Regions from separate parts of the Homo sapiens genome. Here all the other regions are linked to region 4. The links are contacts of gene promoters, found by promoter capture Hi-C in blood cells and fetal thymus (Javierre and others, 2016). All regions are on one chromosome and are shown on one strand. Each heading gives the region's core, a stretch centred on a gene start or on the middle of the fragment in contact. The rest is flanking DNA. Distances are from core to core; before and after follow the strand shown. Region 1 holds the start of TMEM43 (transmembrane protein 43). Region 2 has its middle 16 kb from the start of LINC00690. Region 3 holds the start of LOC124906218 (a long non-coding RNA gene). Region 4 holds the start of CAPN7 (calpain 7).

The links. Contacts are between HindIII fragments. The CHiCAGO score rates a contact against its expected background, and 5 or more counts as called.
Region 1: a contact is called between the fragment with the promoter of TMEM43 here and the fragment with the promoter of CAPN7 in region 4, in 2 of 17 cell types (total B cells and fetal thymus). The highest score is 5.9, in total B cells.
Region 2: a contact is called between a fragment that was not itself captured here and the fragment with the promoter of CAPN7 in region 4, in 2 of 17 cell types (total B cells and fetal thymus). The highest score is 6.1, in total B cells.
Region 3: a fragment that was not itself captured here is called in contact with the fragment with the promoter of CAPN7 in region 4 in 11 of 17 cell types (total B cells, neutrophils, naive B cells and 8 more); the score reaches 18.4 in total B cells.

Annotation. Positions count from the first base shown.
Region 1 is chr3:14,122,337-14,126,301 of GRCh38, reverse strand. TMEM43 (transmembrane protein 43) reads right to left here and starts at 1,250. Exons shown (of 12, transcript NM_024334.3): 1 at 1,097-1,250. The coding sequence starts at 1,108. CHCHD4 (coiled-coil-helix-coiled-coil-helix domain containing 4) reads left to right here and starts at 1,432. Exons shown (of 3, transcript NM_001098502.2): 1 at 1,432-1,647. The coding sequence starts at 1,626. RefSeq lists enhancers at 616-905, 338-1,072, 1,006-1,205, 1,073-1,807, 2,576-2,675 and 1 more and silencers at 1,396-1,955, 1,966-2,015. The HindIII fragment of the contact is 788 bases long and covers 578-1,365 here.
Region 2 is chr3:16,549,650-16,554,620 of GRCh38, reverse strand. No RefSeq gene overlaps it. Among named protein-coding and RNA genes, the nearest start is that of LINC00690, 16 kb to the right of the region's middle. The HindIII fragment of the contact is 877 bases long and covers 2,817-3,693 here.
Region 3 is chr3:16,246,618-16,251,639 of GRCh38, reverse strand. LOC124906218 (a long non-coding RNA gene) reads right to left here and starts at 454. Exons shown (of 2, transcript XR_007095838.1): 1 at 1-454. It also overlaps a transcript of GALNT15 not described here. RefSeq lists an enhancer at 4,004-4,298. The HindIII fragment of the contact is 5,868 bases long and covers 1-5,022 here.
Region 4 is chr3:15,204,996-15,209,407 of GRCh38, reverse strand. It overlaps CAPN7 (calpain 7), which reads right to left and starts at 3,162. Exons shown (of 21, transcript NM_014296.3): 1 at 2,811-3,162. The coding sequence starts at 2,912. It also overlaps the pseudogene COL6A4P1. RefSeq lists a silencer at 2,937-3,456. The HindIII fragment of the contact is 5,244 bases long and covers 1-4,412 here.

The DNA.
Region 1 (3,965 bases), core at 1-2,500, 1.1 Mb after region 4:
CGCCTGGCCGAGCCTGAGTCTCTCCGAATACCTCTGAGGCTTTTCTAGGTACAACATTCAAGGCTTCTAACCCTCCTGTGGGCCCGAAATGTCCTGGGAGTGTGGATGATACTAACCCGAGACAAAGTGTACTAGGGCTGTGGGTGATGCACACCCTGGCCTCTCAAGGGGTGTGGGAGGCAGAGAGGACGCTTGGGGACAGAGGCGGTGTCTGGAAATAGGGTGTGACAGGCAAGGGGAGAGCTGCTAGGACACTCTACCAAAGCAGGAGGGAGGGTGTGTCTGGGGCTGGCTGGGCTCCTAAGCGGGCCCTAGAAGCACTTTCACAGAGGAGGGGAGAGGTGAGTCACCAGCTTCTCCCACACCCAGCGCCCTGGTAGGAGGCGCTGCTTGTTGAATGAATGTTGGGCTTAAATAGTTTCCCGAGAAAGGCTAGTTGCAGGGAGAAGAGGCCTTGAGGGAACAGCCCTCAGCCAGGCCTCCTCCAACCAAATCCTTGCTAGGGGGAGGAGGGGCCCCGACAGTAGAGAAATGCTCCCTCTCCCCCAACTCCTTCGCTCCCAGCCCAGCCTAAGCTTTTTGGAGCATCACAGACTCGGTTTACAGAGACTCCCTAGGGCGGAGAGCTCTCTGCCCGCCTGGACAGCCCTGTCTGTCCATTGCTGGACAGCTCCACTTGGGCTGGATCGCCTTCCTCCCTCCCAAGGGACTGGCGCCCTCTCTGAGGTCGCGTCCAGCTCTCATAATGCGCAAGTTTCAGGGCCCCAAGGTACAGGAGGGAACTGGGAATGCAAGGAGGGGCCGCGGAGAGGCGTACAAGCAGATCCCAGTACGGGAGCAACACCTCCGAGTCCGCCTCCGCACGAACGCCGAGGACGAGGCGAGCCAAGGAACACGGACAAAAGAAGCCTGGACAGGCCGCGAGATGAGCAGAGGGATGAGCTGGCGAAGGCACAGACACGGCGAGCAGAGGGAGATGCGGGCCTAGCCGCACGGAGGAGCTCCAGGCGGCGAAATGGACCTAGAGGACCCCGGGGAAAAGCCCCAGGGCGACGGGGAAGCCTGGGTGTGGCCCGGCTGGCCCGGGGATACTCACATTCGCGGCCATGGTGGGACCCGGCTCGCTGCCGCCGCCTCGCGCTGTTCAGCTAGGAAGTGGGCTGACGACTGGAGCGTGGTGTCCAGCGGCCTCTTGCCAGCCCCAGCTTCGAAAATCCGCGTGGACTCCAGGGCCAAGCGGGACTTACTGCAGTTACCTCCCCCTGTGCCCAGTGTTTCTGCGCATGCGCGCGGCGAGACGTCCTGGAAACTATACGGTCCGGGACATTGCAGTACCTCATTGATGCGCCTGCGCACTGCAAAGCTTTCGGGGAAATGTAGTTTCTACTGCCTGGAGAGCTGTCGAGGAGCGCGCGACCTGCTGGGAAATGTAGTTTCCGGCTGAGGTTGGCCTGGCCGCGGTTGCGAGGGCGCCGAGGCAGGCGCGCGGCGGGCAGGCCTGGGAGGGGGCGGGTCCGCGCGGGCTTCGGAGGAGCCCGCCCTGCCAGAGGAGAGGGAGGTCACGGCGTAAAGGTGCAGCTGCCGCCACCGCCGCTTCTGCAAGGTCTCAGGGACGGGCTGCAGCCATGTCCTATTGCCGGCAGGAAGGTAGGGAGGGCGGGCTGCCACGGAGACCGGCCTACGAGGGCCTGCGGGAGACACGCGGGCCCCGGCGCCCCGCGACCACGCCGGGCGCGGGCCACCTGAGGCGCGGCCCAGGTGCCCACCCTGGGACACTCGGAGGCGGGCCGGCTGGGGGGTCGCTACTCCTGTTTTGCGGATGAGAAAACCGAAGCTCTGGGGGGAACGGGGCTGGTCCAAGGTCACAGTGAAGCCCGAACCCTGACCTCAGAGGGGCCTGTGCGTAGGAAGTCGTAAACTAGGTCCGGTTGGGGCACGGGAAGTGCCGAGCACGTTGCGTGTGGCTCGAAACTGGGAATGTATGGTGGTTAATTATCACTACCGCTCCTGCCATACCCCACGTGTTTACATTTTGCACGCGCCTTTAAAAGGCGCGTCCCGAAAAGTTGCCACTCGGGGTAGCGTGTGCTGTGCTGGAGTGCTAGGAGTTCCACTAACGGGAATGTTTTTGAGCCCCCTGCTACCTGTCAGGCACTGTTCAAGGAAACTTGCCTGGCTTGTCTCACAGATCTCGCTGCGACCTTTGTAAGTCAGGCTCTGTTGTTGGTCACATTTTACTGAAGAGTAAAGTTAGACACAGGAGACATGGCTAAAGCCACTCAGCCAGCAAATCGTGGAGCTGGGGTTTGAGCCTGGGCATTGTGACCCCAGAAGAGCCTTATCCAATCTAGTGCCCAGTGGATTGCAGGGAGAACCCTGCCTACCTCCCACCCCAAAGTTGAGCTCCGACCACCTACTGCTTCCTTGATGTTACTCTACCCAAGAGCTCAGAAGTACCCGAGCCACAGGTCGGAGGGCCTCCCCACACACTGCCACAAACTGGCTCCTTGGCCCTGAGCTCCCACCTAACCCCTCCAGGCCCTGGTATCCAGTGTTGTAAAATGAGATGTTGGGCTTCATTGATACGGCAAATACTCATGAAGCACCTTCTCTGCGCCAGAGAAGGGGGATGGATGGTTATAAAACTACAGAGAGAGTTGGAAGTCCCCCAGAAATTCTTTGGTGAATACTCCAGCTCCGTCAGTTAATTCAAGCAATCTGAAGCCCAGAGAAGGAGGTGGCCTACCTGTAGTTACACATCCAGTTAGGAGACTAGCTCAGCCTAAAATTCTGAGCCTTTTCCCTGGTGGCGCTGTCTGCTTCTAGAACCTCTCCTCCTCTGGGTCGTAAAGCCATAAGACTCACTCTTTAATGAGTACTATTATATTTCCGCTGATTACTACTTAATGTGTGCCATAAGCAAAAGTCCTCTGCCCTCACCACTCTTGTTTTTAATTTCGAGTCTTTCTCTAATTTACTTCATTTAGCAAATAATTTTTGAGCCTTTGGGTATAATGAGGCTGTGCTGATAAACAAGACCCTCCTCTTTGAGGATTTACAGGAGGCAGTTTTCTCTGGAAAGGGGAGGCTAGGTCCATCTGCCTCCAAAACATGGAGCCCTATCTTTTCCTGCTTCAAAGATCTCTCTTAGTTCGGAGAGGAGTGAGAATTGAAAGCACTCACTTATAGGCCTTCCTTAGTATTTATCTTGTGCATACCACTGTCCCCGTAAGAAGTCCCTAACTTCCCCCCCTCCGCCCCCCACTGATCCTTTATGCTTCCCATAGGATTTTTAAAAAATGATCCCAAACTGCTTACTGTATCAGAGCTTATGTGATCTGGCCCTGTCTGCCTTTCCAGCCTGGTCTCTTCCCACCCTTTTGCTGCCCAGCCTCTAGCCTCTTGGCTATTCCCTTGGTTTGGTATATCCTGCCTTCAGCTCTTCCGTGGCTGACTCCTCATCCTTTAACATTTAGCTCCAATATCACCTCCTGACCCTTTGTGTCTTTCACATCCTGAACTGTCTGAAATGACCTTTTTTATTTTTTGCCATCTTACTTCCTGCCTGTCTTCTCGCACTAAGCTGAGAGCATCAGATGGGCTGTGGAATCCCCAGCATCTAGCACAGGGCTTGGTGTACAATGGGTGCCCACATCTTTATTGAATCATGCATTTACCTGCCCTCTGTTCTGAGTGAATCACTTGCCTGTACAAGTTTATTTCAGGGGTCCACCTGCTACCCAGCCTTCAGGTTAAACTCGTTGGTTTGGCATTCAAGGGCTCTCAGCCTCGCACCTGGGCCTTGGGCTAGCCACACTTCTCCTGTGTCAGCACCATAGTGTTTCTTTCTTAGTTTCCTCTTTCTAATGCAGAGCCTGCCAACTCCTGTTCAGTCAACAATTATAGAGCACACGTGATGTGCCAGCCATTGGGCATATAGTGGTGAGCAAGGTGACACATTCTCT
Region 2 (4,971 bases), core at 2,006-4,505, 1.3 Mb before region 4:
TTCTCACTGACATAGTTTTTGCAAAGGCAGTTTCAATACTATCAAAAGAAATAGTAACCATTTGGAAAGCATTTAGAACTAATTAAAGTCTCTACTTAAGTCAAATGAGGAAAAGCCAAACTACACTGTGGGACACACAGTAAAGCCCTGCATTAGTCAGCTGTTGCTGTGCAAAAACCTCCTCAAGACTCGGCAGGGTAAAGCAATGATCATTTATAACTGCTCTCATGTCTGCAGGTCAGCTGCTTTTTGGCTGACATAGGCAGGGCTCAGCTGGGCTGGCTCTGCAGCGTGTGTCTCTCATTCTCCTCGTGTGGCAAACAATGGCAGATGGCAATGGCAAATGTGGAAAGCCTTTAAGGCAGAAATCTCATAACTGGCTCCCTGTCACTCCCATTCATCTCCGTCTTTCAGCCAAAGCAAATTACATGGCCAAACCCCAAATCCAGGGGTGGGGAAATATATTCTGCTTTTTCTTAGGAGCAAAGTCACATGGTGGTCAGTGCAGAACCGGTTGAATAACACAACCATTCATCAGCCCTGAAGAAACTCATCGCCTATCTGCTTCCTCAAGACTCCCCTTATCAGGGTACCTGCTCTCCTCCAAAACTTTCTCTTTCCCAAACTGTATCAAACAGTCCACTCACACTAGCTACCCTGCTTCCTTTGGCACCCTCTTTCCACTAGATAACCTGTTCTCTCAGCATTTCTATTTTCATTTGCATCTCCACCGTTTGCCCCATTACCCTAGCAGCTCACAGCGGATCCTGACGGAACAGGCAAAACCCAGAAGTTGGGTGGGTAGGCAATTTTTGAAAGCTTCCACGTTCCTGATTCCTCCTTGCCATAGTCCATTACTAGCGAATGACATGTTTGGGGCCTTGCATGTTTGCAGAACCAAATCAGTTGTGGAGGAAATATGTAAATATCTCCATGGGTGTGTGATTGTACCGTACCTCACCTTAGCAAAGCTTAAATGTCATTTCCAAACTTGGCTAGGTTTCCCTGCGTTATATGTCATCGAGAGCCACTATAACTAAATATTTGTGGGAGTCCTAGCTGACTGCCTGCTTTGTTTCTCCCACTAAAGTGTAAGCTCTTCATGAACAGAGTGTGTCTGTATGATTCACCAGCTGTGTCTCTATCTTTACCCCACAGCCAATCCACAAATGAATGCCATCAGCCTTGCCCCCCATCATATCCCAACCATCCGTGTTTGGCTACTCCATTGCTAGCCCAACCTTGCATCTCATGCCTGTGTTATTTCACAGCCTTCTAGGCTGATACTCCCGCTGCTGCTGTGCCTGGCTGCAGCCTATTCTCCACATCATGAAGAGGAAACTTTGAAAAATGGATAAAATTGATAGCAAATTGTGTTTCTCCTGCACTCAGAATCCTCCTCTGGCTCCTCACTCTAATCTCTGGCTTCAGTAGTTGATGGCAAATATTTAAAAGTCAGCCTGCAGGAAGGACCCTGATTTACTGAGTTTTTCAATGTTGGTGGTGTAAATACTCATCATGGCCAATTTCAAGCCGCCTTCTTTCCTTCCCTCCCTCCCTCCTCCCCTTCTCCCCTCCTTCTTTCCTTCCTTCCTTTCCTCCCTCCCTCATTCCTTCTGTCCTTCCCCCCTTCCCTTCCTTTCCTTCTTCCTTCTTTCCCTTCTTCCTTCCTTCCTTCCCTCCTTCCCTCTTTCCCTCCTTTCTTCCCTATTCTCTACCTCCTACTCTAGAATTGACATTCCATGACAGGCAATCCATGTCTGTCTTAGTCATTGCTTAGACGTACCTGGCACATAATGGAGGCTCAGTACGTATTTCTTGAACAAATAGTTGACTAAATGAATAGATGATCCTTTCTTAATTCTGTACCAGGATTTAAGAATTATTCAAAGTAGATGTCATTGTTTTACAATAACCAAGTACTGCTCAGCACTTTCAAGTTCACAAAGCACGCCTCATGCATCATCTCTATGATCTGTACCCAGGTGCCATCCTGAGAAGCTGGGAAAGGCTTTTCTCTTCCTCCCCACTTTATAAATGAGGAAACAAAGACTCAGAGAGGTGGAGGTTCCCCCTCAAGGCCACACAGCAAGTGTGTATGCACAGGTCTGACTCTCAGTCTGGCACTCTTCTCAATGGTGTCCAGTAACTGTTTAGCTCTTGAGGGGATCTCATCAGAGAAGCCTGGAGGCTTCAGGGAAAGCCGTTCCAAGGAAGAGGAGAGAAAGACATGGTGGCGAGGAAGGAGGATTGACAACCAGGGAAGGCCTTACCTAGGCCTCCACCAGGCTGAGCTTCTGGCCTCAGGCCAGTAACATAATGATTCAGGTCCCCACTCCTGATTCTGCCACTAGATTCCCACTATCCTCCCCCAAGACATGGAGCATTGAGCCCCCCTTCCCCACAGATAGAGTACCCTGGATAGAGTGGGCTCCACACCTAGCACCCACCTTCTTGCAAGACTATAGCAATGAACAGCAGAGAGCGCAAGCTGGAGACCCACAAGCTGAACTCAGTCCTCGGGGATGATTTCTTTAGCCCCTGTAGAGTTCAAAAACTTGGGCCAACATTTACAAGCAGGAGATCCCAAGTGGTTACTTTCTTTAGGCAAACAGGAAAATCTTGCCACACCTCCTGGCCATTCTGGGCTGACACCAGTCATCCACCTGAGACCAGACAAGTGTTGTCCAGTTCAACGCAGCCCCAGTTTCCTATCCCCTCTCCAACCTTGAGGGCAGCCATCGACTGCAGTTCATTTCCATGCTAGTGCTGGAAGTTTTACTGGCGTCGAAAAACATGGCTCTGAAACCCAAGCTTATACCAAAAGGAGAAAAACAATATATGTAGGGCCTCATGATTTTATTACATCATGACTGACATAACCCTGAGTTTAAGAGCCTTGGGCTATGTCTCCATTTCAAATATACCTTTTCTTTCCCCTTTCTTTCTTTCTTTTTCTTTCTTTCTTCTTCCTTCCTTTCTTTCTCTTTCTTCTTTCTCTTTCTTTTCTTTCTCTTTTTCCTTCCTTCTTCCTTCCCTCTTTTTCTTCCTTTGTTTCCTTGCTCCCTTCCTTCTTTTCCTTCCTCACTCCCTCTCTTTCCTTCTCTCTCTTCCTTTTCTTTATTTCTTTTTTCTCTTTCTCTTTTTTCTTTCTTTCTCATCTTTCTTTCTCCTCTTTCTTCTCTTTCTTTCTTTCTTGACAGAGTCTCTCTGTTACCCAGATATGGAGTATGATACAGGCTCACACACCACACCCAGCTAATTTTTTAATTTTTATTTTGTAGAAATGGGGTCTTGCCATCTTGCCCAGGCTGGTCTCAAACTTCTGGCCTCAAGTGATCCTCCTGCCTCAGCCTCCCAAAGTGTTGGGATTGCAGACATGAGCCACCTCGCCCAGCCAAGTACACCTTTTCTTTGTCCTGTGAACAGTCTCACAAAGAAGGCATCCAGAAGCCTCCTTTAGGTGAGGATCCTTGAGTTCAGAGGCGTGGAGGGACTTGCCCAAGGTTAAATAACTAGACATAGACACAGTACGTGACGATAACATCTCATCCAGCACAGGCATCTGCATAAACTGCATTCCCAGCCACACACCACCAGTGTGTTCACCATGACAGGGTGTGCGACCTGATGCAATAGCCCTTGTGTAATCTGACACATCCCCATTAGGTGGCACCATAAACCAACAAAGCTTTCCAGGACAATGCCTTTGCGGAAATTGGTTTTCTTGCATTATTAGGGATTTTAAGGCAGAATTGTTTTTCCCCTCTTTCTCTCTTAAAAAAAAAAAAAAGTCTTTCAATATACAATGTAGCATGGCTTTCGTGCCAGGCATAAAATGAAATTTGCCTTAATCCATTGCCTAGGGAGAAAGTGTGTGTGTGTCACAACTGACATCTGTTAAATGTTAAATGAAGTAAGCAAGCAATAAGAAGGTCTGAAATACATTCTTTGTTCAAGAAGTCGTGCAGACACTGATCAGCTGCTCTGTACAACTGGGAATAAAACAAGCACCTTTTTCTCCCCCCAACAAGCGCCACTGAAAGCCCCCAAGGAGGGCAAAAGCAGAGGATGGGTGGACTTGCGTGCCGTGAGGTTAACACTTCTGTTTCAAGTTCAAGCAAATTGGCTTGGCACAGCAGGAATGACCACACTGCCAGCTCCATTGTACCTGCTTCCTCCCCAGGGCTGAACAGGAGCCCAGGCTTGTCTGTCCTTTCCTGCTATTTCTTTTGCAAAGTGTAAGAAGGTGTGAGGCTTCATCCAAATTACCTGATCAGTTTTGACCATCAGCATGTTATTATGGTGGATCTATTCTTAAAATATATTTGTTCTTTTGTTTTCCTCACTAGCAAGGAATTTTGAACCAGTCACTCCAAAGTTAGCCCTTGCAATTTATTAGTCAAGCTTCGTTATTAACATTATTAACAAGAGAATGAGAACAGATGTAATTCCAATATGCAGCTGGAATATCAGCTAAAAATGTGCTCCTTATAAAGATATACAGGATTATCAAATGAGAAAGAGAAGCTTTGCCTATGCAACCAATTATAATTGTGGGATGGTGTATTTTGGGTATTGGAATTTTTTGATAAACATAAGGATAGGCAGAAAGCCCTTCGGTTTCAATCCTTTGTTTCATCCTTTCCCTCATTCCTAGAAATAGGTTAGGTATCTATGGCAGTAACAGTGAGTGCTTCCCAAAGAGCCACACACGTTTTCAAGCCTCCCCTGCGGTTGAGTTGAGCCATATGGATGAGTTCTGGTAAATGGGAAAATATTTACTTGTATTTTCTTTGAGTTCTATTGTAGTTTTATTTTTGTATTTAATCCCTGTGGAATTTATTTTAGTATATTAGTTTCAAGCCGGTTGTTCCCAGACTATTTAATTAATCTTTCCTTTTCCTACCAATTGCACATACCAATCAGTATATGATAAATTCTGATTTCTGGTTCAGTAATCAATTTTCT
Region 3 (5,022 bases), core at 1,343-3,842, 1.0 Mb before region 4:
TTTGTCTGAAGGGGCAAACTCGAGAGGACTGCTGCCCTTCTGGGCTGGGGGATGGGGAGGAGGAAGAGGAGGAGCAGAGCGAGCAGCAGCAGTCCTAGGATGGTGGTGAATAGACAGCGCCAGGGCCTCTGGGGGAGCTAGAGTCATGGGACTCTGGTGCTGGCAGGCCCAAGCCCACGCCAGCTTGCAGGAGGGCAGTGCAGCCAGAAACCCTCTGCGATCATGTGTTCCCCTTCCCAAGGGGCAGCCTACTTCATGTGAGTGCCGGGCAGCTGACATTTGCAGGATCTTCACCCCAAGGTCTGAAGCAAACAGCCAGTCAGTTACTGGCCTCAGTGACATCTCAAGATGTGCCTAGCAGGGCTTTTGTGCTGTTCAGCATGGTAGCCACTAGCTATGTGTGGCTTTCTAAATGTAAATTTATTTATTTATGTATTTATTTATTTACTTATTTTGAGACAAGGTCTTTCTCTGTCACCGAGGCCGGACTGCAGTGGTGCAGTCATAGCTCACTGCAGCCTCCAGCTCCTGCGGTCAGCCTCCCAAGTAGCTGGAACTATAGGCACGTGCTACCATGTCCAGCCAATTTTTTATATTTTATAGAGACAGGGTCTTGCCATGTTGCCCAGGCTGGTCTCAAACCTCTGGCCTCAAGCAATCCTCCTGCCTCAGCCTCCCAAAGTGCTGGGCCTCCGGCACACTTATAGGTGTGAGCCTCCGTGCTCAGCCCTGAATTTAAATTAAAATGTATAAAATTAAATTAAGAAGCCAGTGCCTTAGTAGTCACACTACCACATTTCAGGTACACATGCGCACATGTGCTGTGGCTTGAGGTAACCCTACTGGATGGCTCAAATAACATTTCTATCTTCACAGCAAGTTCTCTTGAACAGTTCTATTCTAGAATGTGGCATGGTGCTCACGCACTGAAGAAATAACGCATCTACTAACTTCATCTTTTTTTCTATTACCTTTCTTTGCTTGCTATAGAATGTCTATATATACATTCTTTGAGAGTAGAGAAGAGACAGTGGATGTCAAATATCTGGGTTCAAGCCTCAGCTCTCCCACATCAATTTTAGGAGAACTATTTAGCACCTGTTTCTGCATCAATAAAAGGAGGTTCCCAGGGTAGTGGAAAAATATAGGTAATAAACATGAAGTTTTTGGTAAACTCTACTCACTGTAGATTTCCACCAAGTGATGCACAGAGAAATGGGAAGGGTCATGTCATTAAATTTTTGTTAAAAAGAGGTGTTTTTGGGGAATAATATTGGTGGTTTTTCAGAAGACACAGTAAGGATAAAATGATGCTACTTCCTTTAAGGTGGGAGGCACCCTTTAGGGAGCCTTCTTGACTTTTAGATTTTATAATGCAAAGTCTAGGACGTTCTAATCCTTAGAATACTAACACACACCTTGGAAATTAAATCAGGAGTCTCTGGAGGTGCACAGGAAACAATCACAAGACCCATCCATTTGTCACTCAAGGAGATAAAAAGAGAAGTTTTTATTGCTCTTTCTTCTACTTTATAAATTTGTGTGAAATTCTGTCCAGACTTTGGCATCACTTTCACGCAAGTCTGTTAATGCTTACCCAGTGACAAATTGGGCCCTCTCTCTCCTGTGTTGGTACGAAGGGGTCTTTTTGTTGGCAGGATTATTTCTCCAGCAGGACCAAAGGACACTTGAATTTCCCATGTGGCACAAAGGTGCCAAGAGGAAAGCACCCCTCCAGAGGAGATGGGCTCAGAGAGGAGGAAAGGGCTGGATTTCCAACCGACTCTCACTCCCCAGAGGTCAGCATCTGAGACACAGGCCAGAAGAAGCCAGCAGTTCTGGTTTCCAGGGGCCTATCAATGTCATCCCTGATCCACTCAGAGGAAGGGAGCACTCTGCCCTTGCCAATGTGAGAACGCCCCAGACGACTGGAAGGGAGCAGATAGGGCCTTTGCACCCCTCCCCAGCCTGTCCCTGCACCTCTGGCCAGTTCCAGGATGCTGGTTGTCAGGGCCCAGTCAGCCAGGGTCCAGCAGGCATATAGGACAACCCTGGACACTGCCAGGCTGCTCCCCAACAGCCTAAGAACTCACTAGAGTGGGCAATAGGGGGCGCTAATCCCCTATGGCTATGTCTGAAGTCAGATTGTCCTTGGTTCAAATCCTAAGTCTGCCACTTATTAGTGGGAATTGTTTTAACCTCTCTGAGCATCAGTTTCTTCTATAAAATGGGGACAATGATATTCTTTCACAGGGTGCTATGAGGGTCAAATGAAATAACAATTGTAAGCAGTTAGCACAGCACCTGCTTCATACTCATGTACATCCTTGCTTTGCCTTTTTCTAGTTTGATTCTGGGCATTTTAGCCTCTCTCTGTCCGGTCTTCCCATCTGTGAAATGGGGAGAGTAACAGCACCGGCCTCACTGGAGTGTTGAAAGGACAAAATGAGTTAGCATAAGAAAAGCACTTAGAACAAGGCCTGGCATGTGGAAAAATGTGAAGTAAGTGTCTGCTACTCCTCTTCATTTAATCAATATTTGTTAAGTTCTTGCTATGTGCCATGCATAATGATAGGAGCTGGAATGGTCCATGTTATTAACCAGTCTGCTTTCCACAGACTCCTAGCTGGTCAGGAAGTTCTGCCCTGCCTGGCCATGCCCCATCCACACACACATTGACGAGGAGCCCACCCCAGCCAAGGTTCTGTTTGGCTCCCGTCTGGGGCTCCTCAGTCTCCATCGCCTCATTCCCAAGTGCAGGAAACTGATTCCAAGGATAGTGCTTTCTATACATTGCAGAAATAGTGCTGGAATAAGGGCATCTCTGAGAAGATCCGTTCAGCTGTCAGAGAGCACTCAGGGATGCCTCCCACTGGTGTGCAGAAGTAACTGGCATGAAAGTACGTTAGAATTCACCACCCACCTGAGGTAAGCGAGGCATTTAAAAATGCATACCTATTTCAAGTAAAAACAGATGCCTCATTGTCATTTCTGTGACTCTCACAGTGATTTTGTCTTCAAGCTGTCTTTTTTTCCTCTAAGGAACTGAAGGCACAATGACCTGGGATTGTCAGTGTTCTCTACTGTGTCCAAACTGGATGCTGTTCAGAGAAGGGCTCATCATCCGGGGCCCAGCAGTCTTCTCCCCCGACAACTCCAGCTTTTCTGCACTGCCCATTCTCTGCCCTTTTTTGCACTCACCTTAAATTGTATTCCAATATCCTTACACGTGATTTTATATGTTCTTATATCACGGTGTGTATGTGTGTTTCGGCTTATGAAAGACAGAGATACAGATACAGAGAACGAGGAAGGGAGAGAAGGAATGAGAGAGAAAGAGCATGAGAGAGAGAATAAGAGAGAGAATGAGAGAGAGAATGAGGGAGAAAATGAATTAGACCACAAAAGCAGGGCATAGACCACGAGGATGTTTATTTGCCTGCTGGCTAAGGCACCTATATTTTCTAGGGCAGAATAACTTTTCATGTGTTTTGAGCGGGGGAGGGAGGCAGTGAACAGTAGCTTGAACGATAGCTTCTCTGTAAACATTGTCAGTAAACTGCAGGAGAAACACCGCCCCTCTTCAAAAACGACTGTAGTGAAAATGGAGCAGGTGGGACTGCGGCTAGGAGGCTGGTAGGTGGGCTGTAGAGTTTTCGCCACCAAATGACCGCAGCTGTTCACAGATGAGCTGGAAGCCTGGAGTGCCACATGTGCATGCCACTTCGTTCCTGGGACAGCCCCTGTGTGTGCTGGGTGACGTGTCGCCACCAAGCCAGGCCTCATGAGCACAAGGTTAGATCCTCAGTGCTAAAAAGGTGCTGGGTCCGGGAGGGGGACAGCAGACTGAGGTCGAGGGAAGCCCTGGAAATGCTGAGAGGTCAAGGGGATGGTGAGGGACTTTTATGTTCCCAGTACAGGAAGACAAAAAATGTATTTCAAGAGGAAATGATGCTTCATTTACAACACACTTTCCCAGGTTATCTGATTCTGGGCCTTGCGTTGTCTTTTATCAGTTGTGGGGTTGGAGTGAGTGTGGGTCACAGGCGTGCCTGTGCTTCTCCAGGTTTCACAAGCCCCGTTGAAGGGTGCAGCCTGCTGCTTTAATATTTGTTGCAGGCTGACCTGGTTCCTGTTTTAGTTCTGCCACTAGGTGGCGCAAGCTAACCAATTAGGGCTGCGGCGCTCAATGCAGACGGCAAAGGCATCATGATCTGACGTTCCTGGATTTGAATCCTTTGTTAGTTTTGTGACCTTGGGCAAGCCACAGTTTCTCCTTCTGTAAATTAGACATGATGAAAATCACCTTGCAGGGTGGTTGTGAGGATTAAATGAAAAGACATGTGCTAAGCACCTTGCACAGTGTTAGGCACACAGTCTAAATTGCTGCTTTTCTCTTTTCTTGTTCATCCATTCAATACACACTTATTGATCCATATTTCTGTGTCATGGCTGATAAGGACTTTGTCTGCAAGCATCCTTTAGCAGAAGGTCTTACAAACAGACACACACACACACACACACACACACACACACACACACTACAGTCTTTGCTGGAATATAAGATATATCTTCTACCCCCTGGTTCAAATTCATCCAAAATTTACTCTGTGCAAATGTATTTATGTATGAAAAGCCACATTCTGAAGAGGAAACACAATGGTAAATATATAGCAACAACAACAACAGCAAACACTGTGAATATACTCATTTCATGCTTCTCTAACTTTCTCAGAAAAATTACAAGCCATAGGCCTCACAACTCATCAAGTACAATGTCAATTTTCCCACCTAATTTTTATTTAAAATATTTTATTCCTGTAATACTTTCATTTCAATTATTTATTGCTATAAATACTTTTCTTTTTAATCTATATAATATTATGCTTTTCTTTCCAGAGTTAGAAGAGTATTCCTATATATGCAGAATCTATTATTCCCTACTGGGTTCTGCTATAGAGTATTACATGAACAAGATAACATGTTTCCCTCATAAAAACAATTTAAAATCCTTTTCAGGCT
Region 4 (4,412 bases), core at 1,913-4,412:
TATGCTGATTTATCTTTACAAATTATATTAATGTATTAAATTATCACATGTACCCTGAAACTATGTACATTACCTATCAATAAAAAAAGAAAAAAATAGGCTGGGGGCGGTGGCTCATGCCTATAATCCCAGCACTTTGGGAAGCCGAGGCAGGTGGATCACCTGAGGTCGGGAGTTTGAGACCAGCCTGACCAACATGGAGAAACCCGGTCTCTACTAAAAATACAAAATTAGCCGGGGGTGGTGGTGCATGCCTGTAATCCCAGCTACTCAGGAGGCTGAGGCAGGAGAATCACTTGAACCCACGAGGTGGAGGTTGCAGCGAGTCGAGATTGTGCTATTGCACTCCAGCCTGAGCAACAAGAACAAAACTCCGTCTCAAAAAAAAAGGAAAAAAGATTATAAAATGAAAGCAACAAAATATTAATCTGAAACAAACCACACTTTATTGACAGCACATACATTTGTGAAAAAAAGTACTACTATTGTACAGTATTATCAAAGTCTGATAATCTTTCTAAAAGAAAAGGTGACACTATCATGAGGACACAGCTCCCTCCAAATCTAGCTAGAGCTAGAGGGGTATATTTGCAAATCCTCAGAATTGGAGAGAAGAGAGTGGACCATGGAAGCTCATACCCTTTGATTTATCAATTCTGTCCCCGGTAATTTATCCCAAAGAAAATTCAGGCAAAAATTTGCACTAGTCATAAGAATTAGTTATAAAGATATGAACTACATCGTTACTTATGATGTTGAAAAAACAAAATCAACTGAATGCCCAAGAGTCTGTAAATTAATTATAGTACACTGGACAGGCACAGAGGCTCACGCCTGTAATTCCAGCATTTTGGGAGACTGAGGCAGGAAGATCGCTTGACCCAGGAGTTCGAAACCAGCCTGGGCAACACAGCGAGACTCCATTTCTACACAAAAAAAAAAAAAAAAAAAAAATTAGCCAAGTGTGGTTGTGTCTACCTGTAGTCCCACCAATTGGGAGACTGAGGCAGGAGGATTGCTTGAGCTTTGCAGTTTGAGGCTGCAATGAGCTATTATTAGTGGGCCACGGCACTCCAGGCTGAGTGACAGGGCAAGACGCTGTCTCTTAAAAAAAAAAATATGGTACACCCACATAATGAACTACTGTGCAGCTATTACTAAAAACAGTATAAACCAGTTTGTAAAAAAAAAAAAAAAGCATATACACATACGCATAAAAAAACACAAAAATATAGTCACACACCACATAACATTTCAGTCAACAACAGACTGAATATATGATAGTGGTCCCCTAAGATTATAATGGAGTTGAAAAATTCCTATTGCCTGGTCATGTCATAGCCATCATAATGTCATAGCACAACACTTTACTCGCATGTTTGTGGTGATGCTGATGTAAACAAACCTACTGGGGTGCCAGTGGTGTAAAAGTCTACCACACACAATAATGTAGAGTACATAATACTTGATAATCAACAACTATGTTACTGGTTTATGTATTTACTATGCTATACTATGTACTGTTAGTATACTCCTTTTATAAAAAAAAGTTAACTATAAAACAGTCTCTGACATGTCCTTCAGGAGATATTTCAAGAGACATTGTTATCATAGGAGACGACAGTTTCATTCCTGTTATTGCTCCTGAAGACCTCCCAGTGGGACAAGATTGGAGGTGGAAGACAGTAATATTGATGATCCTGACGAGGTGTAGGCCTAGGCTAACGTGTGCCTTAGTTTTTAACTAAAGAATAAAAAAAAAAAAAGAAACAAAAAAACTTACCAAATAAAGATATAAAGAAAATGTTTGTGTAACTGCACAATAAGTTCGTTTTAAGCTATTACAAAAGAGTTAAAAAGTTAAGAAAATTTAGAAGTTTATAAAGTAAAAGGGTTACCGTAAGCTAAGGTTAGTTTATTACTGAAGAAAGATTAAAAAAATTTAGCGTAGCCTAAGGGTACACTGCTTATAAAGTCTACAAGAGTAGAGCAGTGAATGTCCCAGGCCTTCACATTCACTCACCACTACTCACCAACTCAGAGCAACTTCCAGTCCTGCAAGCTCCTTTTGTGGGTAAGTGCCCCACACTGGTGTAGTATTTTTTTTTTATCTTTTATGCTGCATGTTTACTGTACCTTTTCTATGTTTAGATGCACAAATACTTACCACTGCATGTAACTGCACACACCACTGAGTACAGCAACACGCTGCGCAGGCCTGTAACCTAGGAGCAACAGGCCATGCCATACAGCTTAGGTGTGGAACAGGCTGTACCATTCAGGCTTGTGTAAGCGCTTTCTACGGTGTTCGCACAACAACAAAATGGCCTAAGAACACATTTCTCAGAAAATATCACATCGCTAAGGACGCATGACTGTATGTCAAATGCTATGACAGGAGATGGTTTTTATTCTTTTTAAGTTTATTTAACGAGCATGCATTATTTTGATATATATCACAGGCCATTTCCCGCTAGCTGTAAATCAGAGTCAAGTGACAGCAAGAATTGGCTACTAACTACCCATATCTAACACCTGCCCCCCAAAGCGGCTCAACGGTGGGCATTTGCCAGTCAGGACTACAGGTGGAGGAGCGGCGGCTGCAAGCCGCGACCCAGCCTCCCCGCAGCCTCAGCGTCGGCCTCTGCACTCGGGCTTGCCGCTCCCAACAAGAGGAGGGCCGGGAGGCGGACGAGGGAAAAGCAAAGCCGGGGCCGCTAGCCTCCGCACCCGGATCCCGCCCCTCGGCCGCAGGCCCGGGCCGCACTCCGACTGAGCAACTCCGACCGAAGCGCCGGGCCCGGCCCTACCTTGTAATAAAACACCGCCTCGGAGTAGCGGCCTTCGTGGTCGCGCTGAACCGCCAGACGGGCGAACTGCACAGCGTCCCGCTCCAGTGCTGTGGCGTCCATGGCGCAGTGGCCCCGCGCCGGGGCAGGGAAGGAGGCCCTGACGCAGGACGGCTCTTCGCGGACTGCGGCGGCCCGGCGGCGGCGAGGACTCGGGAGCGCCGCGGAAGGAGCGGCAAAGTTTACTTTGGACGGTGGAGGAGAGCTCGCCTTCCCGTTGCCGGGCTGGGGTCCACCGCGAAGCCGCGCCCCTCAGCCCAGACCCGGCTTGTAGCCCACCCGGCCGCCCCACTTCGCGGCCCCAGCGGCCCTCGCCCCGCCCACCAGCCGCCCGACGCAGGCGCAGCCTGGCCCTCACGAGCTCCTTAGAAGCTGGGGCCGCCGAGGCCAGGCTCGCGGGACTGCGCGGGCTGTGGGCGGGGCCGGGCCCACGCAGGAGCCGGGCCGCGGGGGCGGGGCAAAAAGGCCTGCCGCTGTGCACGTGACCGTCGCGGCGCCCGGGATTGAGCAGCTGAGGGCAGGTGCCACGTCCGAGCTGCCCACACACCGCCTTATGCGTGGCGGTGGCGGTGCAGGGCGAGGCTGTTTTCGTCGACAGTGGGCAGTAGAGGGGTACGCGCCTTACAGATCCTTTCCTCTGTTAAGTGTAAGGGATGGGAGTAAAGAGCTAAGGAAGAATGCCTCCCACCAGCATCTGACACATTAAAAAAATTACCGTGAGGACAGAGGTTCTTTAGAGTCACTCTTCGCTAACATTTATTTTCATTTGTTTTCCACAAGCTGAATCATGACCCTATAGCCCCCCACTGTACACCAAGGTCGTATTGATTGAATTGTTAACAAACAAGGTAATGTATTTCCACTTGTACTTACCCTTAGGTTAACTTGATGCTGTTGTAATTAAATACTTAATTAGGTGATTATTTGATTTATGTCTTCTCTCCCCTAAAGGTCTGAAGTCAGCAGTAATAAAAATGAATTAGTGATGGGCACCACCAAATTCATGCTGAGTCAAAGAAGTAAGAATTGAGTACATAATGTATAATTCCATCTATAAGAAACACTAGAAAACACTACGATGTTAGAAAGCAGATCAGTGGTTGGGAAGGGGATACAAAGGAATCTTTTCGGATGATGAGAATGTTTTATATCTCAATGGTGGTGTAAAAATATATACGTTTGTCAAAACTTATCAAACTACATTTTAAGTGTGTACTTTTAATTTTTTAATTATACTCTAAATTTTTTTTCAGTCATTTGGCCTGCATTTAAAATGGGACTCTAATTTCTTAGTTTAAGTGTATTTCTTCACATTTAGTGAAGTTCTTAATAACAACGGTCTCATCAGGCTGTTATAAAGACACACAGAATTTGATTTTGTGCCTGGCCCAAAGATGGCTCTCAAAGGTAGCAACTACAGTTTTATAGCTGAAGCAGGGATGCTTCCTGTCTTTACCACTTTGATCCCAGCGTTGAGCGCAAGCCTTGTTCCAGAGCAGGTGTTCAACAAATATTTTAAAATGTTGAATGAGTCAACTCCACTACTTAAATATATCTAATGTG